Regions from separate parts of the Homo sapiens genome. Here regions 2, 3 and 4 are each linked to region 1. The links are contacts of gene promoters, found by promoter capture Hi-C in blood cells and fetal thymus (Javierre and others, 2016). All regions are on one chromosome and are shown on one strand. The core of a region is centred on a gene start or on the middle of the fragment in contact, and the rest is flanking DNA. Distances in the headings are between cores, read along the strand shown.

The links. Contacts are between HindIII fragments. The CHiCAGO score rates a contact against its expected background, and 5 or more counts as called.
Region 2: a contact is called between a fragment that was not itself captured here and the fragment with the promoter of RCOR3 in region 1, in 3 of 17 cell types (megakaryocytes, fetal thymus and M1 macrophages). The highest score is 7.9, in megakaryocytes.
Region 3: a contact is called between the fragment with the promoter of INTS7 here and the fragment with the promoter of RCOR3 in region 1, in 2 of 17 cell types (fetal thymus and activated CD4 T cells). The highest score is 5.2, in fetal thymus.
Region 4: a fragment that was not itself captured here is called in contact with the fragment with the promoter of RCOR3 in region 1 in 2 of 17 cell types (M2 macrophages and M0 macrophages); the score reaches 17.3 in M2 macrophages.

The regions. Positions count from the first base shown.
Region 1 is chr1:211,256,563-211,261,900 of GRCh38, reverse strand. It overlaps RCOR3 (REST corepressor 3), which reads right to left and starts at 2,535. Exons shown (of 12, transcript NM_001136223.3): 1 at 2,175-2,535; 2 at 1,737-1,793. The coding sequence starts at 2,340. It overlaps LOC105372902 (a long non-coding RNA gene), which reads left to right and starts at 2,709. Exons shown (of 2, transcript XR_922552.3): 1 at 2,709-3,165; 2 at 3,326-4,088. RefSeq lists silencers at 1,957-2,256, 2,327-3,116 and enhancers at 1,819-2,318, 2,821-3,322, 3,597-3,716. The HindIII fragment of the contact is 7,419 bases long and covers 1-4,003 here.
Region 2 is chr1:210,585,424-210,591,076 of GRCh38, reverse strand. HHAT (hedgehog acyltransferase) reads right to left here. Exons shown (of 12, transcript NM_018194.6): 10 at 2,978-3,179. Among named protein-coding and RNA genes, the nearest start is that of HHAT, 260 kb to the right of the region's middle. The HindIII fragment of the contact is 702 bases long and covers 2,821-3,522 here.
Region 3 is chr1:212,033,211-212,038,051 of GRCh38, reverse strand. INTS7 (integrator complex subunit 7) reads left to right here and starts at 2,495. Exons shown (of 20, transcript NM_015434.4): 1 at 2,495-2,708. The coding sequence starts at 2,615. It overlaps DTL (denticleless E3 ubiquitin protein ligase adapter), which reads right to left and starts at 2,304. Exons shown (of 15, transcript NM_016448.4): 1 at 2,110-2,304. The coding sequence starts at 2,161. RefSeq lists enhancers at 1,485-2,019, 2,035-2,274, 2,020-2,556, 2,435-2,644. The HindIII fragment of the contact is 8,834 bases long and covers 1-2,580 here.
Region 4 is chr1:210,452,577-210,457,528 of GRCh38, reverse strand. The region is part of intron 7 of HHAT (hedgehog acyltransferase); the gene reads right to left. Among named protein-coding and RNA genes, the nearest start is that of HHAT, 130 kb to the right of the region's middle. The HindIII fragment of the contact is 3,956 bases long and covers 673-4,628 here.

The DNA of each region.
Region 1 (5,338 bases), core at 1,286-3,785:
CCAGGCTGGAGTGCAATGGCGTGATCTCGGCTCACTGCAACCTCCGCCTCCCGGGTTCAAGCAATGATTCTCCTGCCTCAGCCTCCCGAGTAGCTGGGTTTACAGGTGCGTGCCACCACGATCGGCTAATTTTTTGTATTTTTAGTAGAGACGGGGTTTCACCGTGTTAGCCAGGATGGTCTTGATCTCCCGACCTCGTGATCCACCCGCCTCAGCCTCCCAAAGTGCTGGGATTACAGGCGTGAGCCACCGCGCCTGGCGTGAATTCAGTCTCTTAAAGCCAAAATGTGCTCTTTCCAAATGTCAAGTAAACCCAAAGGGAGCAGAGTGGTGTGAAAGTGCCATTCACCTACTAGCAACATCAATAAAGAAAATTAGTTTCATAAAACATTTAAAATTATTTGAAGCCCATCAGTATACACACTGATAGTCTTTGAATAAAATGTATTCCCAGCCAGTCATTTAGAAGGCAACCCAAATCTAGTGAACACTCTTGCATCACTGTTTTCACCTATTAAAAATGAGACTGTCCCGACTCATTACTTTTCATCCTCCTCACTTGGGACAGGAGGAAGAGCTGCTATCTGAAATCCAAATGGTTGGTAAATATCATTTTGCATTGTCTTAATGGGGAGAGGAGGAACAAAAAAACACGCCTCTGTATCCTAATAATTAAACATTGTTTCTCTCCAAGAAAATACAAGTAAGCTCTTTAATATCTAACATAGAAATCCAATGTCTGACACAAACGCAATATTATGGGCACTGGGCAAAAATTGACAAACTGTAAGGAGGAAAAAAAAAGGTGGGTCCCTTTCAAAGTCTGTCCAAAGCCTTAACTGAGAAGGGTCTCAGGCAGGGTGGGGAGAAGGAAACGCGCTCCACTCCGAGAGGCTCCAGCAAGGGCGCCTCCATATGCGGAACTCTCGCCCAATCCCTGCACAGGCTGAAATCTCGTGACCGCCGGGGAGCCTGTTTGGAGAAAAGTAGACAGGGAGCCCGCAAGCTGGGTTGGCAGAGGACGCTGGAACCTGGCTGGTCGGGGAGAAAATGTCTCCTTGGCAGCTGCAGCCACTGTCCTGTGGTCTAACTTCCCAGAGCTGGCTGGCGAGCGAGGTGTGCCTGCCGCTGGCGTCTCCCCACCCCCTTCCCCCACCCCTTTCTCTCCGCGGCTCCTGCACTCCGCAGAGCTGCCGCGACCAAAGCTACACCACCTAGCCAAAAAGAAAGAAAAGAGACAATCCCGGCTGCGCACAGGTCGGCAGGGCTCGCCCTTGGCTTCCCCGGCCGGTGACAGCCGCCCTGGCCTCTGCCACCCGCCCGACAGAGCGCGGCCCTCGGCGCCGGGGCGAGCGAGGTGGCAATTGACATTTGCACGGTTCGTCCATACAGTCCGCACGCCTGCTCCTCCAGCCCGCGGCCTCGGACCCTGGACTCCGCCAAGGGCCGTCTCCCTCTGCTCACCCCGACCCTGCCCCAGGCTCAAGGGCTAGGAAGGCGATGCCCCCAGCGGGCAAGTGGCCTCCGAAGGGAACCATGTTAACCTTGCAGTGCACACATCTGCCCACACGCCCAGTGTCACAGCCCGGCCAAGCCTGACAGCCTCCCCGCCACGGATGCCTGCCCAGCCCAACCCCGCATCCCCTCCCGGCCCCATGCCCGGACTCCTAGCCCGTCCACCCCAAACCAAGCCCAGGAAAGGGGATATGAGATTTTGCTTAAGCAAATATATCTACCTGGATCAAATTCAGGGATCCGAGCTTGGTATTCGGCTCCGACTCTCATCCCAACATCTGCAAAGCAATGCCAAAAAATATATATAAAAAATAAAAAAGAAGAAAAGAAAGAAAAAGGAAGAGACACTTAAAAAATAAAAATCGCTAGATGGAGGAAAGAAGCGGCGGGTGGATGGGAAGATATCAACTCGGGGCACTCCGGGAGATGGCAGCGGATTGGGGGCGGGGAGCGGGGGGGGGCAAAGGCGGAGGATTGGTCGAGGGCGGAGGGACGGGGGGTCGCGGGGGTGCTGCTGCACTGCACCGGGAGTTCGAGGCTACCGCAGCGCCCAGGCTCTGAGGGGAGGGAGGGCGGGAGAGCGGCGAGGGGAGGGGGCTGGGGGAGGGGAAGAGGGAGGGGGGCAGGCGGGCTGGCGGGGAGGAGTTCGAGGCTACCACCGTGCTCGTCGTCGCTGCTGCAGCCGCTCTCGGGCTCTGAGTAGTGCAGCCCGCCGTTGGTGGACGAGGCGCCGCTGCCGCCGCCGCCTGCCGGGCTCTTGGCGCTGCCGTTGGCCGATCGGTTCTTCCCCAGTAACTCGGGCCCTTTCTCCATCATGCCGGGCATGGTAGAACAGGGGAGGGGGAAAGGTGAGGGGAAGAGGCAGGCGTCAGGGTGAAGGCGGAGATGGCTTAGAGCGCGGGCGGGAGGGAAAGGAGGAGGAGGAGGAGACGGCGGCGGCGGCGGAGGAGGAGGAGGCTGTTAATATGGAGCCGCCATAACCGCCCCGCTCCGGCAGTAGCGCAGTCGCCTCACAACAACCCGCCCCGGCCCCGCCTCTCTCCCCTCCTCCCTCCGCCGCCGCCCGCCCCGCGCAGTCCCGGGCGCCCCTCGGCCGCACCGCGCTCTACGCCGCCGCCGGTATCACTCCGCTCCGCAGGGAGGTTCCGGCCGCCTGGGGGGAGGGGAAGGGGGGAGGGGCGGGGAAACCCCGCTCGCAGGCAGCCGGGCCACCCCAACCAAGCGCTAATAAAATCGCCACCGAGGCGTGGCCGCCGCTCGGGCTTTCTTCCTAGGGGGCGCTCCGGAGCGCGGGCGGGAGATGCACACGAGGGAGCGGGACTCTTTGCCCTCTCTGGGCGGAAGGAACGCGGTCACCCTGAGAAAGGACCGGCGCGACCCGACTGGGCGACCGGGGGGAGCGGCCCCCCCCCTCTGCGGACCGGGCTGCAGGCACGGGCCTGAGCGCGGCGTTCCTCAGATGTCTGGACCCGCAGGCCGCTCAGTTTCCCGGTGTCCGCTGGCAGCCTCGAGCTAGGGGCGCGCTCTGGCCCGCGGTGCAGTCGCGCAGTATAGCAGGGCGGCCTTGGGGCTCTGAGGCCCAACCGGCGAAAGAAGTAGACTCGGCCCTAACCATCTCGACGCTACAATTTTTGTTTCTGGATCTCTGAAGTAGGGCCCAGTTCCCGAGAGAGAGTCTGGGGATGACGGGATGAGTTTCCGGGGCTGAGCGATGCAACTGTTTTTTGCTGAAGCCCCTCTCCCCGATCCTAACCCTACTGTCTTATTCTTACCATCTTTCTTTCCTTTTTTTTCTTCTCTGTTTTAATAGCTGGGGAGTGAGTGCTGTGGAGTGAGGGGGAAATAAGATAAACATGAGACCTGGCCCAGTAGACGCGTTTTCAGTTCTTGCTGACCTGCGGTCTCCGCTTGGAGCGCTGGGGGAGAGGGCGGAGTCCCCCGGCAGAGGTGAAGCGAGAGCTGCTTTCTGGCAGCGTTTCCAGCCTGGAAGGAGTTGTGCTCTGTAATGCTTTTCTGAATTGCATTCGGCGAAAGGAGTAGGAAACTGCGTTTATTCCTTCACCAGATTTGAGGGCATCTGCTGCGTGCCAGGCTGCCTGGCATTGGGGGCTGTTTATGATTTTCTTTTCCTCTTTTTCTGATTTCTTCCCCCCCACTGACGAATAAGTAGAAATAAGTGAGGATTTAACTGTGAGCCTCTAGTATGCAGATGTATGCTGAGCGGTATTGGGGTTCAGCAGATACTCTCCAAACACTTGAAAATACTGTCTTGTAATAATTCTATTATGGGTCAATCCAGAGTGGATCAAACCAGAAATGAACGTCTCTGGCCAGAGCAAACCTTACTGAGAGAAATAATATATCTAACTCAGGAATTGAGCCAAGAAAACCCTGGGAAGTAAATATTTCTGAAGTGAAAAGTCTCCTGTGTGTGTACAAAACTATCTGGTTCTAGTAGTAGAGATAGTCTCATCTCTCTATTAAAGCTTAATGTGATTCCATTAAATATTTGAATCATAAAACTGGACCTTTTATTCTGTTCCTTTTCTCAATAAATGCAGTTCTGAATATTATTTTAATTCCCGTATAGTTTTCCTACAAGGAGAGAATGCCCTGGCCAAATGAAATGAATAGCCATTTTCCTTGACAGTCGTTATTTTTCATTACAAATTAATACACTGGTATGTTGGTCTTTATGCAGCAGTTTCTAATGAACATGATTCAGCTTCTTTGGTCCTGTAACACAAAAGCTAGACCCTGTCAAATGCTCCTCACTCTGAGGCCTCTGAGCCAGCCAGCTTTCTAACACCCAATGTTGTGGCACTCCATGCAGTTTCCTGCAGAAGGGAATCTGCATATAGATCAGGAACCAAAACGTTGGAAAGATTTAGGGACCTTTGTAACTTCTGTTTATTAGTAAAACCAGTAAAGTGAGAAGATTCCATTCGAGCACAGCACAAAAGGGCAGACGCAGAGAAGACTGCATTCCACAGTTAGGAGAAGAACCTGGGCGAGGGGAGAGTATGGCATTTTTTAAACAGGAAAGTATAATAGGTTTCTGTTTTGTTCCTGAAGAAAAGGAAAGCACCTGAAGCTGGCCTGGTTCTGAATAATAATGGACCTTAAAATGTTTCCCAATAGCTAACAAGGACTAATATACAAAGAGAAAAGGTCTAAGGCGAAATCTTGGAAATGCCTGACTGTAATGGGTTAGAAGAGGAAAAGAAGAAGCTGGACATGGAAAGAATGCTTTAGAATGGCTTGATAGGCCAGGCGCGGTGGCCCACGCCTGTAATCCTGGCACTTTGGGAGGCCGAGGTAGGCGGATCATGAGGTCAGGAGATCGAGACCATCCTGGCCGACATGGTGAAACCCCGTCTCTACTAAAAATACAATAATTAGCTGGATATGGTGGCAGGCTCCTGTAATCCCAGCTACTCAGAAGGCTGAGGCAGGAGAATCGCTTGAACCCGGGAGGCGGAGATTGCAGTGAGCCAAGATCATGCCACTGCACTCCAGCCTGGCGACAGCGAGACTGTCTCAAAAAAACTAAAAAAAAAAAAAGGGTTAATAAACAGTGTCCACTGATGCAGAATCATGAGAAGGGCTTAAGAAAAGGCCTTTGGATTTAACTAGAAGGCTGTTATTTTTTTGGCTGGTGTTTTTACTGTATTTTTGAAAGTTTTACTAGGTGCATATTTTAAATTTGGAACAGAATACTTTCTCATAGTTATAAAGTCAAAAGATAGGATGTACTTCAGTATTGTACTACAGATTCCAGCAATGCATAAAGGCAAGGAAAAATGTATAAGGATTGGAAAGA
Region 2 (5,653 bases), core at 1,922-4,421, 670 kb after region 1:
GGATTGGTTGTAACGCAAAGAAAGGATAGATGCTTGAGATGATGGATACCCCATTTACCCCCATGTGATAATTAAACATTGCATGCCTGTATCAAAATATCTCATGTACCCCATAAATACAAACAACTACTATGTACCCACAAACATTTTTTGTAAAGAAGATATGACAAAGAAAAAATAATTTTTGTTATTTAGAGATCTGCTAATCTATCTTAATAAAACAGATGAAGGATATACACCATGAAGAAAGGGTGTGATGGTTAATTTTATTTGTAAACCTGACTGGGCCCAAATATTCACTTAAGTATTATTCATGGGTGTTCTGGTGAAGGCGTTTCTGGATGAGATTAACATTTGAATCAGTAGACTGAATAAAGCAGATTTCCCTCCCTAATGTGAGCGGGCCTCATCCAATCTGTTGAAGTTCTGAATAGAATAGAAAGCTAACACAATATTTTTTTCTGTCTTCAAGCCTGACTGTCTTTGAGCTAGGACACTGGTCTTCTGTTGCCTTTTTTTTTTTTTTTTTTTTTTGGACTGGAACTTACACCATCAGCTCTCCTGGGTCTGAATTTCTCAGCCTACAAAATCACATGGTCTAATTCTGTATACTAAATTTCTTTACCGTCATCCCTATCCCCCTACCAAAATACACACACATCCTATTGATCTGTTTCTCTGGAGAACTCTGAATACTACTGAGGATGTGAGGGGCATGCATAATTAACTCACAAAGCCAGTAAGTCTTCATTTGGATTTTGACAGAAGAACAGGAAATTGATTCATGAAAAGAGAGGGAAGAAGGGTAACCTAAGTGGGGAAATAGTTTACTCAAAAAATTGTGTGCATTTGGATGTTGTGTGGAACTACATAAGAAACAGGGTACTGGAGGAAGATTCTATGTCTGGGCAAGTGGAGGAAGAACTAAATAATCAACCTGATATGAAAGCACTAATTGTGCACTGATTTAACACTGAGGCTCACTCAGACAATGGGGATAAACAGAGTAATGGGAACCTGGCCATGTACTCAAGGAGTCCATCGTCTAAATAGCTGTAACTGCCTACCAGGCTTGTAGGTGATAAAAATAAGTTTCATATATTCTTGCTCAATAAATATGCAAGCCAAACATCATACTTGCAACATATAAGACAAATATTTTGCCAAAAAAATGCATATCAAAAATTACTATGTACCAAGGTACCTGAATTGTAGATGGAAGGTCAAGTGAGGTGAATGAGTGAGTCCTGGAGCAAGGTGTGATGGAGCAAGGTAGACAAGCAAGAGCTTCATCCTGTGAGTAAGTGTGCTTGATGCCTTGATTTATTTTGAACCAAAATGAACAGGTCACAGGCTACATGGCACAGTTGGGTTACTCGAATGTTTTAGATTTCTAAAATTATTACTAGCATAAGCTATGGCTCAAAGGCCACAGAGCACTGCTTAACATTAAGTTCAAGGTTAATGTTACTTGCTTCATGAAAGAGCACAGAAATGTGTTGCAGGGCTACAGACTGGGCTGAAAAGAACCTTCTGACTTTCAAAGGTGGTAACTGTGTTTTCAGGCTTTGGAGCAGAATGCTCAGATTTGAGGATGAAGATTAAAATCTTTATGATACCATCCTTTTTGGTTTTCCTGTGTGTTACATAGCCATGGCTTTCACTGAAATAACATTTTCTGTTAGAATCCACTGGCATTTCTTTCCTGCTGATGGCTGGAAAAATATTTATCTTTATACATACATGAGCATATTTAAATCCCCTCCAATGTGTTGTTTGACTACTCGGTTTATTTCAGTTTTTATTGAAATAACTGTCCACTTGTACTATGGCTATCTTTATAAAAACATATGTAAATGTATTCTGTTTTGACAGGGCTTTTTAAAGTGCATTTGCTTTAGTTATTCACACTGGGTGGAATGTAGCCACATTAATCATTTTTCAAATTTTCTGTGTGTGATTGCCTGCCATGAACACTGATGCCAGCACATTTCTTTTTAGCTACTTTTTTCGGGGTTAGAGGAATATTGCTACATCTTCAGAACTGATGATTTCCTACAAGATTGTAATATATCATATATCACATTCGCAAGATAAAAGCTATGCCCATAGTTTAAAATCACTTAAAATATATGTGTAAAGAGAAATGCTTAATTGATTTTCCAAATCATTTTCCTGTAAAGTTGAACTGCTTCTTAAAAACCTTAGCTGTTTTTTATACTACTATATACAATACCTATCAAGGATTTAAAATTCCAGTTATACTCAGTATTAGCAAGGTCATTCTTATGCACCATTGGTAGAAATACAAATTAGTGTACTTTTGTCTACAGGGCAGTTAAGAGTTAATAAGCAATATACATAATGAACATTAAAGATGAGAAAAACCTTGAACCTGGAAATTTCACTTACGAGAATTCATCCTGGTTATGATATTCATCTTAATACAGTTGATAGTTGCAAAAAATCTTTAGAATAATATGATTACTAATAATAGGAGACTAAAATAAATTATGGCATATCCACGTAAGGGAATTCTATGTAGCCATTAAAAAGGGTGGTTAGGTATGGACTCAGTGACTTAAAAAGGTGGTCCCGATACAATCATCTCTCTGTAATAGCATTTGTTTTAATGTTATATACATATGTCTGTTTGTATATACACATGGAAAAAATTTAGAAGAATGGATCTTAACATGGTTTCTGTTGAGAGGTTATTTTCTTGTTTAAATGTTCTAATTTTTACATAATACATTTTTTATAGTTATATATACACACACACACCCATGCACAAACACACATATATGCACTACAGAAGCTTCTTTTCCAGCTGTCTTGCCTCTAGGCATATGGACTTTGAACCAACCTAGTAGAAAGGGCCCATAGTGGGGGCAGGGAATCTGATGGCCCCATCCCTAATAAACCTGATCTGCCTAGTTCCACTGTCCCCTAACACAGCAGCAAGGATCCTGCTCACCAGACTGTCCTGGATGCAGGGAGTCTCCACCAGCCTCCGGACTCCATTCTCCACAGTGACTCCCAGCCAGTTGAGCGCTGCCCAGCACCAGAGGTAGTCGTAGCCGCCATGCCAGTAGCTCACAAATGCAAATGTCATCGCCGTGGAAAACAGTGTCCCCAGCAGGCCATGCTGGGACCCGCCCACTGGAATGTACACATACCTAGAGAAAGAAGAGGCTGTTAGGAGACATACAGAGGGCTGCCCTGCAACTCTATCTGCTCCCCAGCTTGACTATCCTGTCACATACTGCTGTTCACATATGCAGATCCTTCCTCACTTCCAAGAGGCCAGATTCCTTGGATTCTCCATCCCACAAGGAGTTGGCGAAAACCCAAGCCTTAGCTCTGCAGGGTGTTAGGTTAAATGAACACACAGGCTCAAGAGCTCTCATTACTAGAGCAAAATAGCACTTACAAGAGGCAGGGCAAGAAGTCATGAATTTAGAGTTTCTGAAAGGGATGGGCCCAACCCTGGAAATCCAATCACAGAATGGCAGTTAAGCTTCTGGCTACATGAGGCCAGCAACCTTCAAGGCAGGTGATATGGTTTGGCTGTGACCCCACCCAAATCTCATCTTGAATTGTAGCTCCCATAATCCCCACGTGTCATGGGAGGGACCCAGCGCGAGGTAATTGAATCATGGGGGTGGGTTTTTCCTATGCTGTTCTCATGATAGCGAATAAGTCTCACACGAGATCTGATGGTTGTATAAAGGGCAGTTCCCCTGCACATGCTCTCCGGCCTGGCGCCATGTAAGATGTGCCTTTGCTTCTCCTTCACCTTCTGCCATGATTGTGAGGCCTCCCCAGCCATGTGGAAATGTGAATCCATTAAAGTGTTTTTTCTTTATAAATTACCCAATCTTGGGTATTTCTTCATAGCAGTATGAAAATGGACTAATACAGCAAGTGTGGATTTTACAGCTCAAACTATTAAGTTTATGGTAAACCCATTATTTAAATGCAATTGGTAAGATCACGTTCCTAAACAGGCAGGAGCTGGGTGCAGCAGATGGGTGCCAGAGACGGTTCCCCAGCTTTCTAGGCAGGTTGCCCAGAAGCAGTCGTGAATTCACAATAAAGAAAAGAGCTCTGTGCTCACAGGGCAGCCAAAGTACCAGACAAAATGCATAGCTGTCCCCTGGGTATGTTCTCCATTGCTGAGACAGCTGCCTGAGTACGTAGAGACAGTACTATGTTCTTCAATCAGTAATTTCCTGCTTGAGTTGGACAAAACTCACACCTTGAGCTGTTAGGACCTGGAAAGCTAGGAGCATACCCTTCTTGCAATAGCCTTTTTAAAAAGCCCATAGGCCTTTATTGCTGATCAGTGCTTCTTTGTCCAACCTTCCTCCAGGAAGGAAAATGAAAAAATCCTTTTCTGAATACACAGTATGTTCCAAGTACTAGACACTTACATGTACCACTTTGATTCTTTAAAGCACCATATGTATAGTTTATACCTACTGCCCCAGCATTTTAAACAATTTAGCATTTGTCCTGTTTATATATTAATTTAGGGGAGGAGATCAAACTTGTTTTTGAAGAGGAAATAAAATTGTTTTTAGAGAGGAAATTGTTCTATTCAAAATGTTTTCAACAGGACTATTTTATTTTTAGAGATAGCATCTCTAGATGTTACCCAGGCAGGAGTAGAGTGGTGCAGTCACAGCTTACCACAACCTCAAACTCCTGAACTCAGATAATCCTCCCACTTTAGCCCCCCAAGTAACTGGGACTACAGGCATGCACCACCACACCCAGCTAATTTAAAACTTTTTTTGTAGAGATGATATAAAAGTTGCCTAGGCTGGTCTTGAACTCCTAGCCTCAAGTGAACCTCCTGTCTCAGCCTCCCAAGTGCAAGGATTACAGGTATGAGTCACTATACCTGGCTTAATAGAACAACTGTATAGGTAGGCAGGCTAAAAATAAAAACAACTTATCAGGCAATAAATCTTTTAAAAGACTCTATGATAAAACTGTGCCACTGGACAAAGACTCTCTCCTTGACTAAACTTTAGTCAAGCTCCTCTAAGCTCTCTAGGCCTCAACCTTGGTGTCCATCTTTATTGTAGCAAGAATCCTGCTAAGTCAGTTTAGAACGAACCCCCCACCTGCAATATCTGATCATGCTCCATCATCTGGCCAAATTCTTCATCACCTACTCTTGGTGTCTGATCACCCTGGCTGCCTTCAGGAGGAATCCTGTTAGGTCTGTTTAGCCAGAATCCTCCTATTTCCCAATGTTTCCTCTTAATATTCCACTCAATGACCCCCACCTTGCTCCTTGGCTATATCCCCCTTATCCAAGCTGTATTCAGAATTAAGCCTAGTTCTGGCTGGGTGCAGTGGCTCTTGCCTGTAATCCCAGCACTTTGAGAGGCTGAGGCGGGTGGATCACCTGAGGTCAGGAGTTCGAGACCAGCCTGGCTAACATGGCAAAACCCTGTCTCGACCAAAAATACAAAAATCAGCCAGTCATGGTGGTGTGGGCCTGTAGTCCCAGCTACTTGGAAGGCTGAGGCAGAAGAATCATTTGAACCCGGGAGGAGGAGGTGGAGGTTGCAGTGAGCTGAAAACATGCCACTGCACTCCAGCCTGGGTGACAGAGCAAGACTCCGTCTCAAAAAAA
Region 3 (4,841 bases), core at 1,246-3,745, 780 kb before region 1:
TCTGGTCTAGAGCTGGTTTCCACCTTGTACCATGAGCTGCCAGGATAGGCTCCGGGCACCCACAGCCCTGAGCTGGAATAAGTGTGTCAGAAAATGAATGAATACAAATCATTGTAAAATAAAAATGGGTAAACTTTACAATAATCATACAAATGAATGACAATAAACGATTTGGTATGAAAGGGCTCAGTGAGCTGCCATATTTGTGATTGTTTTTGACCTGGGTGGTGGTAGGAGGTGCTCCTTCCAATTTTCACTTTGCAAACATTTATTCCTTGATTTAGCCCACCACCACTATGACCGAGGTCACTCGCTGATACACCAAAACTTGGATAATTATCTCACCTGTTTTTATTAATCTTTCTCAAATATATGTATAGCACACAATTATTTCAACATTTAATATTAAAAGTACTTTGAGTCTTTCTTTAGAAGTTCGGTGGTGTTTGTGTGACCAAAATATGCCACTGAAACAATTCTTATTTATATCAAGTAGCCTATGGTAGAGTTAGTTTAGTTATACACTGTTTTCCCTAAAGTCACAGTTTCCAAGAGCCTATCTAGACATTAAGTGAGGACTTACTATATAAGTAACAGAAGGTTGTATGTATGTAGAAGTGGAAGAAGCCCTGGTTGTGGCTGTGATCATCCAAAGGAGTAGGTAGAAGAAGAAAAGGGGTCAAGGATGGAACACCAACACTGAAGAGGAAAGGAGATGATTCTATAGATTTCATATAATAACGAATGAATTTCAGTGACTATTATGTAACAACGAATGAGTACTTGAGAATAGGAAAGAGGGAAGGGAAAGGTAAACACATGGAGAATTAGGAGAAAATCTGTCACAAAATAGAGGCTGAACAGCTCCCCCAGAACACACATATAGTAAGGTGTGGAAGTATAATAAAACCCAGGCAGTTTAACTTCAAAGACAGAGTTCTTAGCCACTGTGCGTACTGTCACTCTTAAACAGAGGACAAAGAAGTTACTCAAACAAGGTCCCAGGAGAGACAGAAAGAGGAGCATTTAAGTATAATTACAAAGATTATCTAAGAGGGAAATAAATAAGGATGGTATAAAGTTTCAGACTGCTAGCAGGAAGTTGAGGGACTACTTCTCAGTCTCTTTCTCAATATTATTTTCCTAGACTCATCGCTGAATATAAAAATTCCCTTCTCAGGTTCGTTTTCCACATAGTTTCAAGGGGAAAAAGAACCTCTGGCTATAGTCGACCTTCACATGAGTGAGATTTTATTTCTGTCCAAGGTTAATCTGGGTAGTTAGCTCCCTTATCTGAAACTTACCAAAAAGTTTAAGTTGATGACATCCAAATCTAACCTCAAATCTCTTATTGCCAATGTTTTAGCGTAAGAAAATAAGTTAGATTTCTACGTATTAACATGGGAATACGTTCAACTTATACCATTAAAGTGAAAAAACTGGACGTTTTGATCCGATTTCTGAAAATAATAGGTATTACCTCTAGCGTCGAAAACATCTGGAATAATATACTTCAATCTATTAACAGGGGTCATCTCTGGCGGATGTGGTTACAGGCATCTTTCACTCTATAATTTAAATTTTTATGACCGTGTAGTAAACGGGGAAAATAAGATTTTGTTCCTGTTAGAAGCAGATATCCTGTCTTCTCTGCTTGACTGAGTTCCTTAACAGCGGGTCATATTCACTGGTATATACCTATAGCACATAGCTGGGCTCACTAAGATTCTACAACAAACGAATGAATTAATCAATGATTAGGAGTTTTGAGCATCTCAAATAACCGTTGAAGGAAACATATACACACAAATGCATGCATTTTCCCGTTAACGCGCAATGGAGATGTAAGCTGTAAGGGGCCTTGGAAGGCAGTTATTTCGACGTCCCTGCCTACGTTACGATTTTAAAAGCCCGATTACGATTACAAGTGTCCCGAGGGGATGAAAGTACAGCTTTCTTTAGTAGTCCCTGCTAACACTAATTTACCCTTGCCATGGGAGAACTCAGAAGCTGAGTTCAGAATTGGAGTCGGCCCTGGTCGGAGGTGGCGTGTGTTTCGGGGGAAATGAATTCCGCCAGCTCCGAGCAGCGGTTGGGACCGTTACTCACCATTTCTCAGGACGCCAAGCTGGGGCTGGCGGAGCACCGAATTGAAGAGCATCAGGGTCGGAGGAAAAGCCTCAGCTGAGAGAAAAGTCGTAGAAATGCCTCCAAGTTCAGCAGAAATCGCAGCTTGCGCCTCTCACAACACAAATCGTTATCGCCTCCAACTCCCGCCACTGTAAGCCCCGGCCGCCAAACTCCGCGCCAAACTGACGTCACGCTCTCTGATTGGCTTCCGAGCGACGTCCGGGCGCCTCAGAGTCATTTCCCCCTTCGGATCCCCGCCTCCTTTTCTCCCAGCCGCGGGAACCTGGAGTCCAAGAGCTCCTTGAGCGCCTGCGCAGGGGGTAGCAGAGGCGCGGACAAACCGCGGGGTGACCAGGGCGCATGCGTAACAGGGCTTGACAGCGCGCGGAAGAAAAACCAGCAAGAAGGCGGCGGGGGAAGATGGCGGTCCTGGGGTAGAGTTTGCAAGCTTTCTGACTAGGCTAGTCGAGTAACTATTCGGGTCATGGCGTCAAACTCAACTAAGTCTTTCCTGGCAGATGCCGGCTATGGCGAACAGGAACTGGATGCCAACTCTGCCCTTATGGAATTGGACAAAGGTATTCGAAAGAGAGGGCTGAATGGGTGAAACAGGCGTGGGGGGAAGTGGCGCCACCAGGTGGTGGTTGCTTTGGGAGAAGACGGATAGGCGCATGCGCATGTCTTCGCTGGGCGGGGAGCGCCTGTGCTTTTGCTGGGGCGTGGGCTTTGACCCCTTCGGGAGGTTGCGGGAAATTTGCAGGATTGTGTGACTGGCCTTATACCGGCTAAACAAGTAGCGAGCTCTAGTGAGAGGCCCGTTTTGACCACTTGAGGGAGCAGTCCCCCGATTTTCTAAGCAGTGACAGTGGCTAGTTTCTAAGAGACACTGCAAAGAAATTGTGAAATTGGTTTTCAGTCTGTTCAGTTGAGACCAGGTCTTCATGAAATGTGCTGAATAGTAATCTTGCACCGACTTGACAGCGATTCATTTGATTTCCATAGCTCTGTTACCTGCGGGTTACAAGGCAGGCTAAACCTGGCCAAGACCATAAAAAAGCAAGGGCCCTGCTCATTCTCTGCGGACAAGTTCCAGGAGTTCTGTTGCCGTACAGGGAGCAGCTTGGTGTAGAGGGAGCTTTGGGGTTACACTGAGTTAAGTTTCAATGCCGCTGATTTTATGATTAACTTCATCTAGCCTCGGCTTGTCGTCTGCAAAGTGGGTACAGTACCATTGAGCCGGCAGAATTGTATTAAGTGACTTAATGGTATGCAAAAGAAGCATTTAGTAAATGCTGAAGAGATATACCTCCCTTCTTAGATGTGGATATGGGAGGCAAGGTCGGAAATTTGTTAGTAAAGAACTCGACTAGTAATATGAAACCTTTATTTCATATTGAGGATTTTTATTGTACGGGAAACATTTCGGCAGCTGGTATACAATTAAATCTTGATTAATCGTAGCCAATATATAATGTTGGAGAACTGGACTAGAACTCAGAAGGGTTTGAGCCACTTCCCAGTTTTCTGAGTTGGACATGTCTATTAACTTTTTTGGGACTCTTTTTCTGTTTATTTTTTAAACTGTGAATATTTTTAGTGGGTTAGTCTAAATAAGAGTTTCTCAGGCTCTTAAAAAAGCTTTTACCTTATTTTGATAAACACAAAAATTTCACAGCCCCCTAATGGGATATTCCTTTGGTTGAGTCTCAGTATCTTTAGTGCACCCCCATCAACCAAGAAAATTATGTTGAACTTTTCCTTCTCTTACCAAATCTTTAGGGGTTTTCTCCTCTGAAAAAAAAAAGTATAATACTAAATGTGTTTTTCTCTTTTTTTTTGGAGACAGAGTGTTGCTCTGTTGCCCAGGCTAGAGTGCAGTGGCGCCATCTCGGCTCACTGCAACCTCCGCCTCCCGAGTTCAAACGGTTCTCCTGCCTCAGCCTCCCGAGTAGCTGGAATTACAGGCGCCCGCCACCACGCCCGGCTAATTTTTGTATTTTTAGTATAGACGGGGTTTCACCATGTTGGCCAGGCTGGTCTCCAACTCCTGACCTCAGGTGATCCGTCCGCCTCGGCCTTCCAAAGTGCTGGGATTTACAGGCATGAGCCACCGCGCCCGGCCTTAAATGTGTTTTTCAAACACTTTCCTCCTCATTCTGATACATTTCTTTCTTATTCCTCAGTGAAAGTTACAGGTCAGGATAATATCTAATATCCCTACGAGTTCTAAGGACATTTTCTACCATTCTGGTGCAGCTGAGCTTGTCTCATGCTGACAATAGGATAGTGGTTGTGGAACAGGGATAAAGATGGGGCACTGAAGAGGAGTCTAGAATGGTTTAATTCCTCAAATTTTGCAGTTGTAAGAAAAAAACCACAATTTTTCCTTTTTAAAGAAGAGTTGAAATGAAAATATTTTATATCTATAGGAAAGAAATCAGGTGTCAATCTTAGACACAGAGTAAGTGATCATTTGCACTCCTCCCAGCAATGCCTGGCGTGAGTGTTTTACAGGTGAATCTCAGGCTCAGAAAGATGACTTGTTCTTTTTCATCTCATCTGTAGTAACTTTTAAAGCTGTTAGGAAATTAAGTTATAGAAATAGCCAGTTTCGTGTAGAATATAGTTGAGTATTTTAAATATTGAGTCATTTCATCTTGTACCTGTTAAAGTATTTCTGTTTTGTGAGCTAAAGGTCAGAAGGCTACAAG
Region 4 (4,952 bases), core at 1,401-3,900, 800 kb after region 1:
AGCATGCTCTATCTGCGTGTACCAGCTTATGCCCCTGTGTCAGTCCGTGGCCTGACCTCTCGTCTGGACATTTTCTGTTCCAAGTCCCTCTAATAACTTTTACTTTGTCCACATCAAACCTACTCTAGATTTTGCTTAACTTTTTTTTGTGATTAAAGCTTTGTAGCTTCAAGAAGCTTAGACTTTTTTTTAATAAGTTTTTTCTCATATGAGGTTATTTATAAGAACCTCTCATATATAAGATGTGGGGTAAGTACTGGAAATATAAAGACGAATCAAGAATAATACAGACCAGGAACCTCAACATAAGGTGGAAGTGCTACAACAGAGACTTGGAGATTTTCTCTCCCCGCCGGGGGTGAAGGAGGAAGAGAAACTAATGTCCTGAGGTGGTCAACCCACCAGTGCTCAGAGTCATCATGATGGCTCTGCAGACACACTGAACAAAAGGTAGCTATTGCCCCACAGGAGTTCTGTAACGTGCTTGGTCAGGAGGAGATGGATCAGCACCCAGAAAACCAAAGTCAGTAAATGTGACTGGTAGGGGAAGGGAGTGAGGTCATGGGCAGAACTGAGGAACAGCTGCCACATACTCCAGAGCAGCAAGTGCTACAGCCCAGAAGGAAGAGCAGCGTGTGGGGGAGAGGTACCAGGGACACCTCACGTGAAGCTTGACCGGCCAGAGGGGCTAAAGAAGCAAAAGGAATTCAGTCATCTCTAGCATTGAATTCTGGAAATGAATGACTACAGCAACTGGTGTCATTTCAATTCAACCTAAACCTCTAGAGCTAGAAGCAGCCCCACCAGGGAGAAGCTAGTGTCCCCACTTCTGAGCTCAACAGTGTCATTGGCCTGCTGAAGGACAAATGGTCAGAAACCAGTAGCTCAGACTCATCCACTAGGAGATCCTAAGCTGAATCTCTGACCAAGAGGGACAGACACATGTAATCTACCTGCCTGTGCACGGTCTATATCACAAAATCCCCTACTCATAGTACAGCAATAATATGCTCTAAACAATTGGTTGTGCATGTTGATGGCAAGGCCATGCACATCCGGTAGTTGACCCTCTGGTGCTCAAAAAGGGGGTGGTCCCAGGAACCCGCTGCATCTGGCTGGTGAGCAGTTCACAGAAGAGGCTTTAGGGCTGCTTCCAGGAAATGCAAAGACTGAGTATTCAGAGTAAGTAAGACCAAACCAGGGAGAGAGGGGAGACAGAAAGGGGAAAAAAGGCAACGAGTCAGAAGCTGGAGGAACATTAATCACATCCCTAAAACTAGAAACGAACAAAGCAGATGTTGGTAAAATGAAGCAAGAACAGACTTGAGTGGATTAGAGAGTGATTTGGGGCTATAAACTTCTGGCTGCATAATTCCTTTCTGCGTGAAGGCACAAAACAATACAAAGAGGCCAGGCTGTGCTCCTTGGGTCCATCAACAGGCCTGGAGGGACAGCAGCCAAACAGAAGGGGACAAAGCCAAAACCTGGTGCTCTCCTGATGAGAGCTATGGCAGAGCTTTGCACTCTCCTCTACCTACAGTTGCTAAAGTGGGATCTACACACCCTTCAGGCGTGGCTTCTCAGACAGTTCCATCTCGTCTCTCATGGGCCTTATTATTTACCAATATCCATGTAAAACAATAATCACACAAACAGTAAAAGCATAAACAGATACAGAATAATAAAAATACCAAATTCAGGATAGTGGCTGCCATTTAGGGGCAGGGTGGGAAACACAATCAGGAGGGAACCCAATCAGGTTTCAACTATGTTGTAATATTTTATTTCTTAAACTAAGGATGGAGAAACCAGTGTTTGCTCCATTCTCTCTGTGGTGAGAACTACTATTACTCCCCATTTTACAGATAGGAACCTGGGCACAGAAAGGTTACAAAATTTGCCTAAGATCACACAGTAACAAGTGGCAGGGTCGGAACTTGAATCGGGTCAGCTGTCTCCAAGTCACCACGTTTACTAGATTCACACAAAACTGAGGCCAGACGTGGAACAGAGCCTGTGTGAAGCTGACCAGGGAGTTGTTAAAGGGAGCTGACAGAGGTTATTTCAAGCAGGAAACAAAGAAACAAACCAAAAAAACAAAGGGAACGAGCTCTAAAGGTCCTCAGAAAATCCAGCCTCAAAGAGCACAACGTATGCAAAGGTATTTGAAATCAAATGAGGGTGCGGTGTGTTGTGGTGAGCAACTCCAGATGAACAGATTTGCTCTTTGAGTTGTTTCAAGCTAACTAATACCAGGTCAAAGAAGCACAGGCACAATGAGAGATACCTTTTTCTGCTATAAAGGGCAGGTAACGTGAAAGACAGGGACAAGAAGACAGGCACTTAGTGTGCCAAGGACCATCAATCTCGGGAAGCCTTTCAGCTGCTCCCAGAGGTGGTCTCGGTCAAGGTCAAGAGTCAGCCCCAGAAAGAGCTTCAACAGCTGCATGAAAATTGCCTCCTGGCCTCCCATCAGCCTCCCCTGCTTTGTCCTTAAATGAGAGGAGCCAGTGATCTGTAGAAAGGGCTCTACACTGGGCAACCATGAACTAACACTCTCCCAGGTAACTGTTTCTTCTTTTTCTTTAACACCAAACTGATCCTTTCAAGGTCACAATGAGTGGTTATTAACTTGGAAACCCAAGAGAGAGTTGACTTCCCAGAGTGACTATTCTTTGAACATGTTAGACATGGAAAAATTTGGTTTTGGAAAATTGCTTCTTAACGGGCTCAAACCACCAAAATGTCCCTCTTTAAAGGAAAGATGTGTTGCTGGAGGACACAATTTACCTAGGTAGAATATTAAATCCTATTTGCCCATCTTGTTCCTCAGGATATCACCTGCTGACATCTTGTACTTGATTCAAGAAATGCAGGGAAGAAGATCCCACACAGCAGAAGCAAAGTAATACTCCACACACATAGCCAGGCAAGACTTAATGAAATAATGTGGGACAAGAAGGGAGCTTTTTTTTGAGACAAAGTCTCATTCTGTCACCCAGACTGGAGTGCAGTGGCACGATCTCGGCTTACTGCAAGCTCCACCTCCCAGGTTCATGCCATTCTCCTGCCTCAGATTCTCAAGTAGCTGGGACTACAGGCACCCGCCACCACGCCCGGCTAATTTTTTTGTATTTTTATTAGAGACAGGGTTTCACCATGTTCACCAGGATGGTCTCAATCTCCTGACCTTGTGATCTGCCCACCTCGGCCTCCCGAAGTGCTGGGATTACAGGCGTGAGTCACCGTGCCCGGCCGAAGGGAGCTTTACACAGGGCAAAATGTCTGAAAATTCTAAAAAGCACATTTTCAGGCAGAGTCCATGATATGGTTTGGCTGTGTCCCCACCCAAATCTCAACTTAAATTATATCTCCCAGAATTCCCATGTGTTGCAGGAGGAACCCAGCGGGAGGTAAATGAATCACGGGGGCCAGTCTTTCCCACGCTATTCTCGTGATAGTAAGTCTCACAAGATCTGATGGGTTTAACAGGGGTTTCTGCTTTTGCTTCTTCCTCATTTCTCTCTTGTCACCGCCATGTAAGAAGTACCTTTCACCTCCCTCTGTGATTCTGAGGCCTCCCCAGCCATGTGAAACTGTAAGTCCAATTAAACCTCTTTTTATTGCCAGTTTCGGGTATGTCTTTATCAGCTGTGTGAAAACAAACTAATACAGTCCATCACTCACTTTGCCTAAAAGAAGTGCTCTGTAAAATCTATGTGTAGACTGAATTGGAAATTAACTACTAATTAAAGGATTCTATTGCAAATCCTTCAAAAAAGTAAAGAATCCCTTTAGAAAGCAAATAATTACCCCCCTCAAAGTATCCAACAAATTCAGATTTCCATATGTCAACCTGGTTTAAAAGAAACATACAAGTATTTTCTGCATCTAAGAAGTTGTCCGTACACCAAGTTACCTCAGCACAATAATGAGTTAGTTAAGAATGAACAAAGATCATGGTATTCTGAGGGGACTATGGGGGAAGGAGAGAAAGGGGGAAAGGGAAGGCACGGAATAGGGGGTATTTTAAATAACTGTGCTGCAACTTGCTACATTTCAGTATATATTTATAACAGCACATCAAGCAGGCATCTCTTCCATTCTGCAAGCATGCACCATGAAATTATCTTCACACTACATAGAATATCTGTAATTGAACAGTCAAGTTCCAGAGTAGTAAATCCCAGAGTAGCTTTAGGTTTACACTGCATTAATTTTAAATAACCTTAGGATTCTAATCCAAGAAGAAAATTTATAAAAATTTTTTCTACTGTATCTTAACGAACCTTAGAATGTTTAATGCCTCAAAAGAGGGGAAAAAGAAAGGAATCTTATGCTAACTGATATATGTTTGTCTCCCCAGCTTTCAAAACAAGGATCAGACGTCAAATGTCTTATCCCTTTCCTCTCACTGTTATGTTGTAGAATGAGAAAAAGCAAATGGATAACTTTGCTGGCATTTCATTACCATTTAGATAGGTGCACAGGCGTTATTTCAACAACAGTTGGTACTTAAACACTGAGCTAAAAAACTCTGATTACTTACACTTAGACAGGTTTTTAATCTCCAATCAGTGAACAATTAAGTCTTTCAAAAAGGACTCTAATGTACATTCCACAAAGCTTTATTATAAACTTTGCCATGTAAGAACAACCAACTTTCAATTATTTTCACTTTTCTATCTCCTCGCTCACTCTCAAATCCCTTGCTAAAGCTCTCTTTTCTCCCATAAACTCATATACCTGGATTTACCATGGATTTACCATAGAGAAGCACCATTCAATAATAAATTGAAGAAATATTACCTTTCTGAGCTCTTTTAAAGAAAAACCTCAAGTCACTGTCTTTGCTCCTCTTAATCCTAGGCTCTGCCTAGTTAGGGTATAGCTCCACTCTGCCATGTTCTGTTTTCTTAGAAGATTCTGAAGTTCAAAAGAATATAACAGTT